2 separate regions of the Homo sapiens genome follow, and region 2 is linked to region 1. The links are contacts of gene promoters, found by promoter capture Hi-C in human tissues and cell types (Jung and others, 2019). All regions are on one chromosome and are shown on one strand. The core of a region is centred on a gene start or on the middle of the fragment in contact, and the rest is flanking DNA. Distances in the headings are between cores, read along the strand shown. Region 1 holds the start of GAP43 (growth associated protein 43). Region 2 has its middle 220 kb from the start of GAP43.

Region 1 (7,695 bases), core at 2,526-5,025:
CAGCAGGAGAGATCAGGGCTCATTGTGTATGCGCCCTGGCATGGGTTAGAAGGAATTATAGAGTCACCAGAAATGAACACTTTCTAGACTCACCATGAATTTTCTAAGGTTCTCTGCAAGTCCAGATAATTTGGCAAAAAAAAAAAAAAAAGAAAGAAAAAAGAAAGAAAATGCCCTTCAAATATTTTTTCTGTTTAAATTTGGAAACCTGTGGTGAAAATCACTATTAAAAAAAAAAAAAAGAACGAGAAGCTTCAATTATATTAAGTAAAATGGCTCAGCTTAATTAATTCACTAAGTCCCTGAGTGACACTGGGTGTGGCTCAGAGAGATTTGGGAGGAATCCAATTTATCACTAGGAAGAATCGCCTGCACCAAGCAGCAAGGCAGCATCCTTCCACACCTTCCCAACACTGCAAGGAAAGGCAGAGAGGTCGGAATTTTAAACCACAGATCACACTCTCAGAGATAAGATTTATTTGTTGCATGAGGAAAAAAGCAGATATTGGCATGGATGGGGGGCTGGGGAGTAGAGGGACTACTTGCTTGCATGAAATTCTTTACACTTCAATTACAAACTAAAGTCATTATTTTTCAACAAAAGAAACACCTCATAGTTTTCTTGCTTTGTAGACATAAATCACACCTTGCCAAGTTTTTAATCATCTGCAATACACATGGCAATTAAGCTATTTAAAGTAAGCCCCAAGATATTTGAAAATCATAAGGCAATACAATATTAGGGATTATTTTATTTTATTCCTCCTTTGCCCACTCCTTTACCATATTCTCATCTCTACCCCACTCTCATTCTCTTCTTCCTGCTATAATAATCTATAGTGATAACTAATGGCTAATAGAGATCATTTATGCTTTCTTCTCACCCACTGGCAATGTATTCCAACTTAGAAATCCAAGGTTGCTTCTTTATGCCGCTCAAGTGGAAGAGGAAGGAAGTGCAAGCCCTTCAGCCCCCCTCCCACGTTTCTGCTGGATTTTATGGGTGTGGCAGAGCTTAGACCTTTGCAGGTTTTTGCCCTTGTTTTATTCCCTGTTAAGTACTACGATGATGAATAGATGCCAGCAGAAGGATGGGCACCACTGGATTTTGTCATAAATGATACAGAATTTCATCCACAAGCAGGCAACCTGCGTGAGACTTAAGTACTCATGCTACATAAATGCCAGTCAGTGTAGTGTGAGCCCACGCCCTGAATACACCATTTCCTTTAGTCTGATTGAATGGTATCCTAAATACTGGCTAATGTGAATGATACACAACAGTGGTTTATAAGAGACATGACCATTTCACACAGAAGTACACATTTATAAAATGCATGAGCAAAGTAGGACAATTTCTATACCTTTAATTTTCTCTTGAATATAAATGATGCTAAAACACAGAGAGGCATGTGGAAACCACTTACACATGCAACTGTAGCATATGAAGTATGTGGATGCTGTATACATTTACATGCGAATTTCTACAACTCTAAACACAATTTCAGCTTCATCACTTTGCACATCAGAGTGAATGCTTGGGGCTGTTGGTGAGATAGAGCCCCAGGGAAGGCAGCTGTCTTCATTTTGGGAAGGGAATTCCTTTAGCCCTAATTCCTTTTCTAAAAATCATACATGATTTCCTTTATTAAAGGAGATGTATGTATACTTGCATATGTACACATAGGGTGGGAACAAATTATGAACCTGAATATTTTTCTTTCCAAAATTAAAGCTTTTTAAGTGGATGGCTTTGGCTTACTTAGTGCTCCACCTTCCTAAATGTTATTTCCCCAGCTCACCAGTGAAATAACCTCAGGACTTTTCTTTGACAGTGTTCTTAACCCAGACACCTGTATTTATTACATTTATATATTAAAATGAAGGAGGACACAGAGAGAAAATGCCCTGGTTTGATAAAATGAGCCAATGGAAGCATCAATCTCTGTAACCATAGGGCAGTTTCAGGAGATGCTGCAAATACCGCCCCCAACTCAATCCCCCACTATCCGACTTTTTCCCCCAAATAGCCCCACACAATCCAGGATGTCTGCTTATTTATTTATTTATTTATTTATGCCAAATCTCTACTCCCACTGCTCTGACATTCTGCTTCAGTCTCCCATCCTCTTCCTGCTCCTTCTCCTTCATCCTCACTCCCCACCCTTCCTTCCAGGGCGCTGGCTAAATGTGCTAAGCTGGCAGGCTGTTTCTTCTCCACTCTCTTCCACCCCCTTCGGATTCAGGGAGTGTATTACAAATTGCCCAATTTCCAATACCTGCACTGGAAATTATACCCAAATTCCATCTCTTGCACCCCACCCCTAAGGCAATCAGTCTGCGAAGGGCTTCTTTGACCAAGATTGCCCCCACCACACCCCCACCCCCACCACAGTCAAGCATACGCACACACTCACCCGTATCCCACACCCATTTTTCTCTTTAACCTTTGCCAAAATCACTCAAATGCATTCCAACAAATGTTTGAAAGCTTCTTTTGGAGACTGCCATGGCATGGTCGGTTGCTGCGGAATACCACACTCGTCATTCCTTCCCACTCTCACCCCAATCAAGTTTCTAAAATGTCTTTCAAGAAATAAGCGAGCAATTGGAAATGGCTGTAAAACCTGGGCAGTGGGGGAGGGAAGGAGGGGCTCTGATTCTTGCTAATCTTGGATGTGTCCCTCTTCCTGATGAAAATGAGTCACCATACTTATTATCCAGGATGTTAGCCTGTCTCTGGTCACTGACAATCCCAGGAAAGAAGCAAGGGAAGGGGATAAGAGAAAAGACCTGGTTTCCAACAGGTAATACCCGGCTGTCTTTCCCATCCCATCGGAGCTCCTAGGGGCGTGGTCCACCCTCTCCTCCGACCAGCTGGTGCACAATCGGCTGCTGATCTTAGGAAGGGGATTTTCTCCTTCTGCATGGCCAATTTCTCCCCCAGCCCCAGTTGTCTTAGCTTCTCTTAAAAAAAAAAAAAATCTATCAAATCACAGTTTCATTCATTCATTGAAAAATAAATACTAAATAAATAAGACCTGCACGTTTTTCCATAAATACCTGCGCCCCTTCGAAGCTCATGCATGCACGAAATAAGGCATCTTCCGCAGCACATGTGAGAAAATTGTATGACAGAGAGGCAATACTCAGTTCTGAATATTATTTCCTCAACCCTGCTTTTTTGCAAATAATATAAAGAAATGCCTCCCCATCTTGTAGGTAGAGCCCACATCATCTCCCCCACACCCCTTTCTACGTCCACACCCTCAAGACCAGAGACCTCAAATGCTGAGCATTCACTAATAAGAAAAAAAAAAATTATTTCTAGCCAAACAGGCATGTTTTTTCTACCCTCACCCTAATTAGTAGCAGCATTCCAAAACCAGAGCATGAAAGACAGAAAAGAATAAAAGCTGGGATGCAACCATCAGTTACCATATGCTAAGGAAGCGCGAGCACCACGGCCAGAGCAGAAGCAGTAAAAAAATTGTTTGCCTTTACGGGGAAATACTGTACTCGGGTTATTTCACAACAGCAAGAAGTAAAAAATCTTTAGCTCTACCTGTTTGGTTCTTCTCATACAGCACAGCATGGTTGTCTCGTCCCTTGCCTTCTTCCTGCCTTCTCTCCTTTCCTTCTCTCTCTTTCTTATTCCCCCCCTCTCCACCTCTTTTCTGCTCGCTTGCTCACTCGCTCTCTCGCGCTAGCGCGCTCTCTCTCCCTCCCTCCCTCTCTCTCCCTCACACACACCAGGGCAGTTAGCAGCAACTGTAAGGTCCACAGCTATTGCTCATCGCACATGCTCGCTCCCTCTCTCTAGCGCTCTCTCTCTCTCTCCCTCTCTCTCTGGTGCTCTCTCTCCGCTGTCCTCTCTTCCCTCTCTTCTCCTTTTTTCTCCTTCCCCCCAATATCTATCTATCTGTCTTTTTCTTCCCTCTCTCTCCGTCTCTTTCTCGGAATTGTTCTCTAGCCTTCAGTGACTAATCACTTCCCCCAGCCCCTACCCCCATTCTAGACAGTCGCCCCCTCCCAGTCCCCTGCCAGCCTCATGAATATTTAAACACCTCCAATCTGGACCCAATTACCCACCGACTTTTCCACTGCATTGAGAGGGTGATGGGGTGGGGGCAGAGAAGGATATTCCAGTCAATCCAGGAGATATGATAGAGCATGTTTTAGGGAAGAGGGGCTTGAGGAATCCTTGTATTTCTTTAAGAACTCTTTTCCTCTTTTCCTAGTATTATAAAAGCAAAGAACAGCTATTTCTAAAGAGGAATTGTAGTCAGTCCTATACAATATAAGTCATATCTGCCATTACATTTTATGCATAGTTAATAATTGTGGAGGTTAATTTCCCTCAAAAAATGAAATAACATGTAAATATCATACACTGTTTATATATTCTTCTCAGTATACATATAACCTGAAATAAATACAAAGCTTAGATATGCACAAGCATATTTTATATATGTTCCAATATCCTGGAAAAAAATCCACATAAATATATTGCATTTTAAACATTCTAAGCACTTGAGCTCAGAAATAATAAACAATGTTTAAGAATTGGCATCCATATCTAAAATCACATGGTAGTTTTTTGTTTTTTCCTTAATGCACATATACCTGTTTGTAAATTGTGGTTTCTTCTAATTTTACTGAAAAAGCTGAGCACATTCAAACAGGTCTGTGTAATATTGACGGTGATCAAAATGATATTTTACAATTTGGGCATGAGAGATTAAAGTGAATTCATCTGAGATGAGAAGAAACGATAAGTCATGAAGCCTACTTCTTGAATTCCTTCTATGGCCTTTCATAATTTTGGGGGAGGAACATGTGACTCTTAAAGTGTGTATAGCACAATTTTTAGTTATTTATTGTTGAATGAGTTTGAGTGTGTTACTGAAGCTCTTTGCACCTAATTTTCTCATCTTTAAAATGGAGATAATAATGCCAATCTTGACAACATGTTTTGAGGACTAAATGATATAACGCATGCAAAGCACAACAGTCTCTCTGAGTGTATAATAGCTTTACTCCAGAGACTGTACTTTTCTGAAATTCGGGTGACATTTGCAAGTGAATATCTCAAAGAAGTTTTCAAACTATTTCTTGTTGTTCATTAGTGATGACAAGTACCCCTAATTAAACAGCTCATATTCTTCATAGTCCCTCCTAGACCTCCTAGACATAAACCTAGCTAATAAGTGGCAACTAGGCAGCTTATTGTTAGGCATATTTCAGGATCACTGAGCTCAATAAGTGCTTAGTACATTTTAACATAATTTAAGGTATATCTATTTCAAAATGGACTATCTCAGACAGGTACCTGGGAACGATGGTGATGATGATACCCAGGAGGTGATATTTAAAATTAGCCTTAATTATTCCTCAGGAGTCTTCCTGAGAGTGGCCTGCTTCAGATCCGCTGATTTGGTCTTTCATTCTTCTCAGTTTGCTTCCTAGTTTTCATATTTATGATTAAAAAACAGAATTAGTTTCTGAGTTTAATAATTTTTTAATGTTACAAGGAGCCCAGCCGCTTTCAGAACAGCCTTCCGTGATTTTAAGTGATAAAAGAGGACAAAGAGTGGGTGAGAAATGGCTCCTACCAGAAACATTCCGGTTGCAGATTAGGAACACCCTACCTAGCCTGCTAGTGGCTAAAGAGCAATGAAGGGAGGAGGCAGAGAATGTGGGGATTGGGGATGATGGAGAAGAAATTGCACCTTTTGGTGTTTAAACAGGATAACTCCATTGATAAGACCATTTCATTAACTATGTGGCCAAACTTAAAGAGTGGGACTAATTCCTTTCCCTTTCGATGTACTCACCTCAGCCATCCCATTTATATTTTTCCCCCTTTATATATGGGAAGGAACCTTGGAAACAAAGTGGCATAATGAAGTTAAACAAGCTAGGGCTTAAAACTGGGCACAAGCATTGATGAACTTTGTGACTAAATATGTGAAACCACCCAGCTCAGAATCAGCTTCCTCATCAGTTTACATGCATTATTTTATCTAATACTCAAAATGAGGTAGGCACAAGTAGTAATCCCATTTTGATGGGGATGCTAAAGCTAAGGGAAGTTAAGTGCCTTGACTAAGTCACAGAACTAAGAAGTAGTAAAGCTAGGACTCTATGTCTCTTAACAACTAGGCTACATCAATCACCACTTAATAGGCCTCTACTCTTCATTACTTCTAGTCCTTAAGAGATTAAACTACATAGTGGAAGTTTTAATGTTGAAATGAAATCAGCATTCAATGTTGAAATGAAATCAGCAAGATCCATCTTTTAGGCCCAACTCTTACTTCAAGAGCCATGGAGAATAAGCTGATATCTTCATGCAATAGAGAGCCCTCTATGTATTTCTGATGAGATGTCTGCTCCTTCAACTACCCTCAGGTGTCTCAGTGTGTAAGGTCCTCACCATTTTGGATGCCTTCCTCTGGACATACTACATTCTGTCAATGAACCTTTAAAAATTACCTCCCAATTTGGAAGCCTAAGATTCCAAATTTAATTTGAATAACATGGAATCAATTCTAATGCATCTTTTTCTCTAAGCAATGGTGGTTATGGATGGCAAAAGAATAAGGGAGAGACAAGCACAAACTGATATGAGCTTTGCAAAAAATATATAAAAAATAAAATAACCGATGTCCCGATTTTTGCCAAGCAAATACACAATAGACCCACTAATCCTTGTACTTTATAACTAATCCTAGACAATGCATAGGCTTAAGCCCCATGGCTAACCCTTTTACAATTTTAGATTAGCAAATTAACTCATAATACTATCAATTAACTTCTTGACTATAGGTTAGACAATAATAACATTCTAGAAAAAGATGAAGAGTGGTGGAGGCCAGATCCCAGTTCCACGCTCAGATCTCTTTGAACTTTATACTAAAGTGATACTGCTTGTATAATAAAACCAAAAGTCACTGACCTTTACTAAGGGCTCTGTAAAATAGTCTACCATTTTAAGATTATGGCTGGTACTTGAGAGAAGACAATGTCATCAATTCAGGTAGAAAAGATGTTAGTCTTATTTCTCCCTTTTTTAAATTTTATTTTATATTTTATTTTATTCTATTTTATTCTGAGACAGGTTTTCTCTTTGTCGCCCAGGCTGGAGTGCAGTGGTGCAAACATAGCTCACTACAACCTTGAAATCCTAGGCTCAAGCAATCTTCTACCTCAGCCTTCTGAGTACACAAGCCTTCTGTGAACTACAAGTACACGTCACCACTCCTGGCTAATTTTTTTTTTATTTTTTATTTTTGTAGAGACAAGGTCTCATCATGTTGCCTAGACTGGTCTCAAACTGCTGGCTTCAAGCAATCCTCTCACCTCGGCCTCTTCTCTTATTTTTTCAGTGCTTAATCTAAGCCTTTTACTTGCTGCATTAGTTTTCTAGCATTGCCGTAACAAAATAGCACAGACTGGGTGGCCTAAAAAACAGAAATGTAATTTCTGACAGTTCTGAAGTCTGGAAGTCCAAGATCAGGCTGGTGGCTGAGTTGGTTTCCTCTGAGAGTCCTAAAGGAAGGTCCTTTCCAAACCTCTTTCCTGCACTTGCAGCTGGCCGCCCTCTGCTGCCTCTGCACATGGCATGGTTGCCCCCCTGTGTGCATGTGCACCTCTGCTCTCTGTCCCTGTGTATCGTAAGCTCCCCTTCAT
Region 2 (7,695 bases), core at 1,489-3,988, 220 kb after region 1:
AGTTGGAAGTTCAGTCTGTTTAGGTTATCCCTTTATTTGTGAATCTAGACACTCACATCTTTAGTAAAGCAGAGTTTATTGTACCGAAGACAATAAACATGAGAGTGGACAATGTACTCTGTTGACAATGTACTCTGGTAAAAGTACAGGAGAAAGAAGAGGACCACAATAATTCAAGGTCTTTGGGTCCTTAATAGCTTTGCCTTTAGCTTTACCCCCATCTTCTCATCCTTCATACACACTCACTCCCTATATCCATCCCACCCTACTAAACTGGAATTCACTGAGTACGTTTTCAACATAAGGCTCTGTGCTTGGCAACTGTGAGGAATACAAAGGTCCATGAGACATAGCTTTAGCTCTTAAGAGGCTTACATTTTAGCAGTATTTCCTAGACTCAGAGAATCACAGAGCTGAAAGTAAAGGCCTTTCAGTTGAATTGCATCAAAATTATTTTGAATTTTTGCAAGTCTTTCAAAGGCAATCTCTTTTCAAGGGTTCCACTGCAAAATCTATGCACCTAAAAATAGCAGGCACTAACATTCTGGGACCATTTACTCTACTGACCCCCCTCACATGTATTCTTTACCTTAACCCTTACAGAGAGGCATTGCTACCCCTGTTTCAGAAATGGGTAAATTGAGGCCTCAAAAGATTAAATAAGCAGTGGCAAGGCTGGCACTCATACTGAGGTCTGAATCCAAAGCCTACATCAATACCTACTCCTCTCTACCATCTCCCACTTGCTTTCTACCAGAATGTGGTGAAAGCTGGTATCTAACATCACCTCTGCAACAATGGTGCAAAGCAGACACCCTGCTCTTCCTCTAAAATCACAGTGGGTAGGAGGACAGGTAGGACAACCTGTTTCTCCGTCACTCTCTTATCATCAACTAGGGGAAATGTTGGTCTTTAATATATCAAGTGAAATGCTAAGTAAGAATACTGCCAAGAATTGCAAAGAGGATGAAAGTCTATGTTCTACAGGAAATAGTAAAATAGATCCCTGAAGCAGGTAAGGTTGCCATCTGGAAAATAATATAGAATTTTAGATAGCTGTCACAGCACAGTGGAAGGCAGCAGAACACGGTTTATTGAGTTTCAAATCTGCCACTTACTAATCATCTGACCTTGGACAAGTCAAGGTCTTTCAGAATCTGTCTTGTCATCTGTGAAATGGCCATCACAATGCCTGCCTCAAGGCCTGTTGTAGAACTCAATAGAATTACAAATGCAAATCAATTAAAAAACTGCAAATGCTCTTGCAAAATAGGCTATTTTAAGCTTTAAGCTATTTCCAGTCCCATGGAGATTTCCTTTAAGTAAAATTACACATCCCTATTCTGTATATCTCCCTGTCTTATGCTGTGCCATCTTCTCAGAAAGCAACAGTTTTCAATGTTTAAGAATCAAATATGATTTATTTGTGATAAATCATTCAAATAAGTGGGTCAGAAAAGTTTCATGAAAAAGAGACCAGGATGCTCAAGTCAACAGCTCATGGCATGTGTGACTGACACTCAGAGCAGCACCTTCTCACCATGGGCTTTAGGAATCCTGAGCTGGATGGCAGGCAAATCCCGCCGTTTCCTTCTGGTTTTCATCTCTGCAGGCTGGCATTAAGGAAAAGCAAACTCTTCTCCATTTGCCTGAGGGAGGAGATGCCTAATTATCATGTTTCTGATTTCCCTCTGGAAGGCTGGCGCCAGGGCCTGAACTCAGCTCTCCCCCAAGTCTCCAGGGACACATGCTCCTGGAAAGCCTTATACATCGCCCTTCCCCCACCACAAACACACACACACACACACACACACACACACACACACCCCGCTGAGAACATGGACAGTGGCTGTCAGCATTTATCCCACCTAGCCCAGTACCACCACTCTGATACCAGGATGGAGACAGGAAGCAGTGGATGACTGACAACTGCCCTGTAGTGCACAGAATACCTCATGGGGCTTTGGCCATGCCTGTTTTAAGTATTCCATTCACATGGATATTCCACCACTGCATCGACAGTTTTTCCTCTGCGAGCAGACCCTGATTTTCTTATGTCTTCTCCTCATATTTAGAGAGCTTGCCTTGTAGGAAAAAGTACCCCTCCCCCACCCAGTATGTATTACTAACTAAAGCTGTTTCCTGCCTTCATTCTCTGCCCTCTTCTTCTATTGCTTAGGGAAACTATACAGTGAAAACTCAGAAAATATTTTATGCCCCTTAGGAACAAGCAATCTGAATGATTTCGCAGGGAAATCACTTCAAAAGCATCTGTTTCCACCCACCCCCTCCACTAGCCTGAGAAGCCAGAAAATGAAGCCATATTCTACAGTACAGACACCATCAAGGAGTAAATCAGTACCACAGAGACTGCAGCAAGGGGCTCTTGGTTGTATAAATACCCAGCCACAGCCTGCTCAATGCAGCTGGTTTAACCAGATCACAAGGCTTTCTTCTGGACTTCTAACCCTAAGGGCTGCCTTTACTCTCATTGCCAGTCTGCAGCAATTTCATGTATATGGTTTCCTGTCCTCTTTCACAAAATGGATGATGCTGACCCTGCTAAATAAGAGAGGTTCCAAACCAGTGTTGGACACATGCTATTAGCATCATATACAGCTATAGCTTGGTTCTGACCACATACTATATTGCCTATCTGGTATTATTTTTTCCTTCCTTCTCGTTCTTTTATTCCTTTCTCCCTTCTTTGCCACCCTCCTTCTTTCTTTTCTTCCTTGGAAAAGGTGGAAGTTAGGAAGTGGTGGAAGAGATGAGAAAGTGTAACTACACTGTAGTTATGACCTGTTTCTTTCAGATCATTGGCTCCACTTAGCCTTTAAAGCAAGGGCCAATCTTGAGTTCCCTTTGTGAAAGATTGTGCGTTTCTGACCCTGGGAGAGTGGGAAACTGGTCCATGAGCCGACAGTATTGGCATCACCTGGGCACTTGCTTAAAATGAAGAATCTCAGGCCCCACCCTGGACATATTGAACCAGGGTCTGCATTTTAACAAGATTTCCAGGTGATTAAAATGCAAGTTAAGGTTTGAGAAGCACTGGCCTATAGTATGGTGAAACATTACATTCACCTGCCAAGACTTTTCCTGTTCATTAAGTCAGATAGAACAACCTCTGCTACTGTGTGTATAAAATTACCAAGTTCAGGGGGTCCACTGATGGTATATACACAGGATTATGCACAGGCTTAGTGAGCTCCAGGAGGCTGAAATGTAAAGAATTGAAACACTGGGAGAGGCCATAGGCCCCCTGCCCCAGAAGTCAGTGCTGTCTAATGGCTCAGCTTCAGCTGAGAAACGACTCTCCAGGAAGACAGGCTGCCTCAGGCCTGGATTTTATCAGCTGCTCCAAGATAGCCCTTAAGCTCCTGCTGACTCTGACATAATGGACAATCCTGGACCAGAAAGCAACAGACCTGGACTCGAAGTCTACCTTTCATCTCATCCTGACTCCATGACTTTGGACAACTTACTAAACTGACCCTCAGGCTCCTCATCTCTGCAGTAAGACTTAATACAAGCTTAGCCAACTGCATAAGCTAGTTGTGAGAATCAAACAAAATCACGTTTAAAAACACTACACAAACCACAGTCAACAGTCTTCAACTGACATTTACTATTGTTAATTGGTATAGCATTGTAGAATTGTGAAAGGAAAATAAAATCTTGGGACCCCAAATTCACTATGCCAATGGGAAAAGTTAAGCTTGGAAACTGAGTCATGCAAAAAATTGCCTTTTCTTTTGTACCTAAACAGACAGCTACAAGGTAGAAGGCAACATGTCTTCCTGGGTGGCCTCCTTCACCCTGACAATGTAAATTAACAGCTTATCTTCACAGGTCTGGGACAAAGACAAGGAATCATCCTTCCACCCACCCAGGACAAATGTGTAATTGACTGTTCTTCTACTCACTCCTTTCACATGTAACATGTTGATTCAGTGAGTGCTAATCAAAGCCTCACAGGAATGTGACCACTTATCTCACAACCCACCCTCCCTTTTTTTCCCTTTCCCTTTTTCCCTCCTGCCGGATCTTTACCCTTTAAATATTGAAGTCCTGAAAATCCTCTTGGTAAAAAGCGTGAGCCCCAGATACTACTGTGGCTTGTGTCACTTTTTTCCAGGCACATCCTCAATTTTAGCAAAATAAACCTCTAAATTGATTGAGACTTGCCTCAGTCATTTTCTTTGGTTTGTAGAATAAAGGGAGCTTCAGATTGGAAGGGAATTAATAAATTCATCTCCTTCCTTAACCAAGGATTCCTTTTTGCTAGTAAGAGAAATCACCAACTCAGTTCTATGATCACCAAAAAGGAAAAAATGGTCATAAAAGAATGGATGGATAGATGGACAGATGGATGGATGGATGGATAGATGGCCAAATAAACATTTTATGAGCATGAACACTGTGTTGTTTTCACATACATTCCACTGATGCCCAATAGAGTATGACAGCACACAGACATCCTGTGGTAGAAACCAATTATTATCCTTCAGGAATGAAGGATGTATTCTTCCAGCTGTTGGAAGTTATACTGAATAAAGCCCTTAATTGTCAGCCTCCATTGGAGATTCCTTAAGCTAAAGAGAGCCACTTCATTCCAGGTTTCATCCAATAACTGCTCCACACAAAGGTATTAAAGCCCAGCCCACTTTCCCAGCTCAGGACACCTCTGAAGATTCAACTGTGTCTTCCACTGAGACTGTGTCATAGCTTTACTTGTTCCTCTGCTCAATCCTGCTTCATTCCCTTCTATTTCATAGGGACTGACCCCAGAAGCACTTCCTAATAAACTACCTGCTTGTTAATCTTCATCTCAGAGCTTGCTTCCCAGGAAACCATCCTATGACATATCCTTATATGAATTTTTTATGTGACATGCCTCTCTTGTCAACCACATGCATTCACTGAACACCCTCATGGTGACTCACAGAGGAACAAAGACTATTGGGGCTGGAAGGGAACTTAGGGAGCATTTTATCCAACCACTTCATTTAATAGAGAATATTCTGAATTTAAGTAATTTACCCAAGATCACTTTCATAGTTAATGGCAGAGCTAAAACCAAACTCCAGGTCTCCTGACTCATAATCCAATATTTTTCTATTACACAATGATATTTTCCCAGAAAAACAAAAGGTCTTTGTGCACACTTGAAGAAGAATGTAACACTCTACATCAGCTTACAAAGTCAAAGAGCAAGAAATCATTCAATAAAAAAAAAATCCTCCTACCATGGTTTCTGGTTTATTTTCAAAAGCAGATATGAGTAATATTTTGAAATACTGCTGGTTTCCTATTCTTCATTAATATAAATAAACAGATACATCAGCTTGGTTGGGCCAACCTCCATTTTTGATGATACATTTGAGTTGGAAAATATCTTAAGACGGATTCAACAGGATCTGTGCTGGGATCCTGGAGGGCCTGCTGTAGTTAAACACAAACTTTAAAGTGCTTCAAATAATTTCTATGAATTATCATCCTCATCCTAGGCAAAATGATCATAATTCAGATCCTGAGTTAAGACACAGAGAAGGCCAGGAAGATTAACAACGAAGGCTCCAAGGAGGAGATGAAGAAAAGTGGAGACACTTACTGTTCTTCTTAGCTTATAAACAGGGCATGACAACTTTTCTTCTTGTAATAAATCTTATGATTTTTCCTATGTATTCCCATAATACCTTGTATGGATCTTGATTTTTGTGACCACATGGATTATGATTATCCTTTTTCTCCCTAACTAAACTAAGAGTTCTTTGCAGTCAGGCACTGTGCTTAGTCACTTTGTTATGGCTGGAAGAGATCGCGTTATCCCAAGTTACTGGCTGCATATTTGTCTGGGTCTGTAGCAACTTCAGTCCTTGCCTCCTCAGAAAAAAGAATTCAGCTGAGAAATTCTTTTATCTCAGAAATTCAGAAAATTCTTTTTCTGAATTTTATCTCAGAAAAAGAGACTGAGATAAGTTTCAGAGCAGGAATGGAAGTTTATTAAAAAGTCTTTAGAATAGGAAAGAAAGAAAAGAACCCTTGGAAGAGATCCAAGTGGGCACCCGAAGGTCAAAGACAGAAAAAGAAGCAAAAAAAAAAAAAAAAAAAAAGTCGGGGCTTTAAGCTTGATCCTAGGACTTTATAGGCTTGCCGCTTTCCCAAGATTCTTCCCTTAGGGTGGTCTTCCTGCATGCACAGTGCTTTCCTTACCTTTTGGAATTGAGCACTGGCAGTGTGTTTAGGACGTCATATGCATGCTCACCTAAGGCTTTCTTCCCTTTTCTGATGGCGTGTTCCAGGAACATCATACCTTGCAACTTTTGTCTCTTAACTCAGAAAGTTGCTTTTCCCTGGGGCCTGCATTCAATTAACATTTTGACGTTCACGGGTATGGACCATGAGGAAATGGACTCTCCCTGGTGTTGCCAAATTATAATTTTTAGAGAGGCAATGCCATAATTGCTGAACCATCACCCAACATTCCTAGTGGGGTGCAGGGGAGAGCCCCCTCCTGTAACAACTCGAGTGCCTAAGTCTGATTAGCACTGATTGAATGTTTGTCAAATGCGTGAATAGTTGAATGAATGACCAATGTTGTGGTCTCCTCGTCATTTTTTCCTCAAAATATCTTGCCCATAGAAGCCTTTATAGGGCCTGAGGACCTCATGGGAGTCAGGAGCAGAGAGGAAAGTTAAGAATTATTTTATGTTATTGCAACACATTTTACATATTAGGAAAAGAAGCCAGAGGACTGAAGAGATAGAAGGATTGTGAACTTATGCTATCAAAAGAAGTGTGTTTTGTGTGGGGTCAATGCTTCAGAGGAGTGAGCAGGATCCCAAAGTATATGAGTCCAAAATTTTCTCACCCTCCTTACCTAACTTAGAACTTAGGTAAGCATTCTCAGTTCTTATGTTTTAAACCTCTTTCTCTGAAACCTACAAATATTCCTTCAGGTCTAAACCTCAGGATAAAACTGGAGAAACAGAGCCCCAAATCACATGCATAGGCCCCAATCTGCAGAATAAGGGCCTTCAGCCACTGATCTTTCTATGAACGTGAAATGGGAGAGAGCACAGCTGGGATGCCTACCTCAAGTCTTATTAAACTGGGAGCTAATCTGATCAGAGGCCCAGCTTAACTGAGGCCAACTATATTTCCTCAGGGTTTTTGCTGTCCCTGAGGAGGAGAGGAGTCAAGACGCAGATCAGAAATACAGTATAAGTGCTTTCACTGAGGCATGCCTACATTTGCAATTCAATTCAGAAAGAGAGAAAAGAAGATGGAACGGGCTACCAGGCTGAAGCTAAATGCCATGGGGTCACTGGGTTCCTTAGCAGGAGTGGCTATTCAAAGGGATAGGGGGGATCTAGGGAAGGGTAAGAAGCATCAAATGTATTCTCCGTCACTATGGAGAGAGAGGGGCCTCCTGGGAAATGGGGAAGATTGCATCACCAATTTGATTAGCAGAAAGAGCCAGGCCAGGACTAGCTGGGGTAATCCTATGCACTGCGATTTTTTAAAAACACCTCTATCATCTACTGTTGTTGCTTCTGATGCTGCTTATTAAACAGGCTATCAAATCCAAGCAGGGAGGCACTGGATGATCAGAAATATCATCATCCTTGTTGTATTATTGTTTTTGTATTGTTACTAGGTCCCAGAAATGTGCTTTGCATAAAAATG

The links. The method cuts DNA at HindIII sites, captures the fragments that hold promoters and counts their contacts. A contact is called where the count stands out against the background at its distance.
Region 2: a contact is called between a fragment that was not itself captured here and the fragment with the promoter of GAP43 in region 1, in 2 of the 25 tissues and cell types used here (dorsolateral prefrontal cortex and thymus).

Annotation. Positions count from the first base shown.
Region 1 is chr3:115,619,590-115,627,284 of GRCh38, reverse strand. It overlaps GAP43 (growth associated protein 43), which reads right to left and starts at 3,775. Exons shown (of 3, transcript NM_002045.4): 1 at 3,566-3,775. The coding sequence starts at 3,595. The HindIII fragment of the contact is 4,830 bases long and covers 2,114-6,943 here.
Region 2 is chr3:115,399,641-115,407,335 of GRCh38, reverse strand. No RefSeq gene overlaps it. Among named protein-coding and RNA genes, the nearest start is that of GAP43, 220 kb to the left of the region's middle. The HindIII fragment of the contact is 4,378 bases long and covers 550-4,927 here.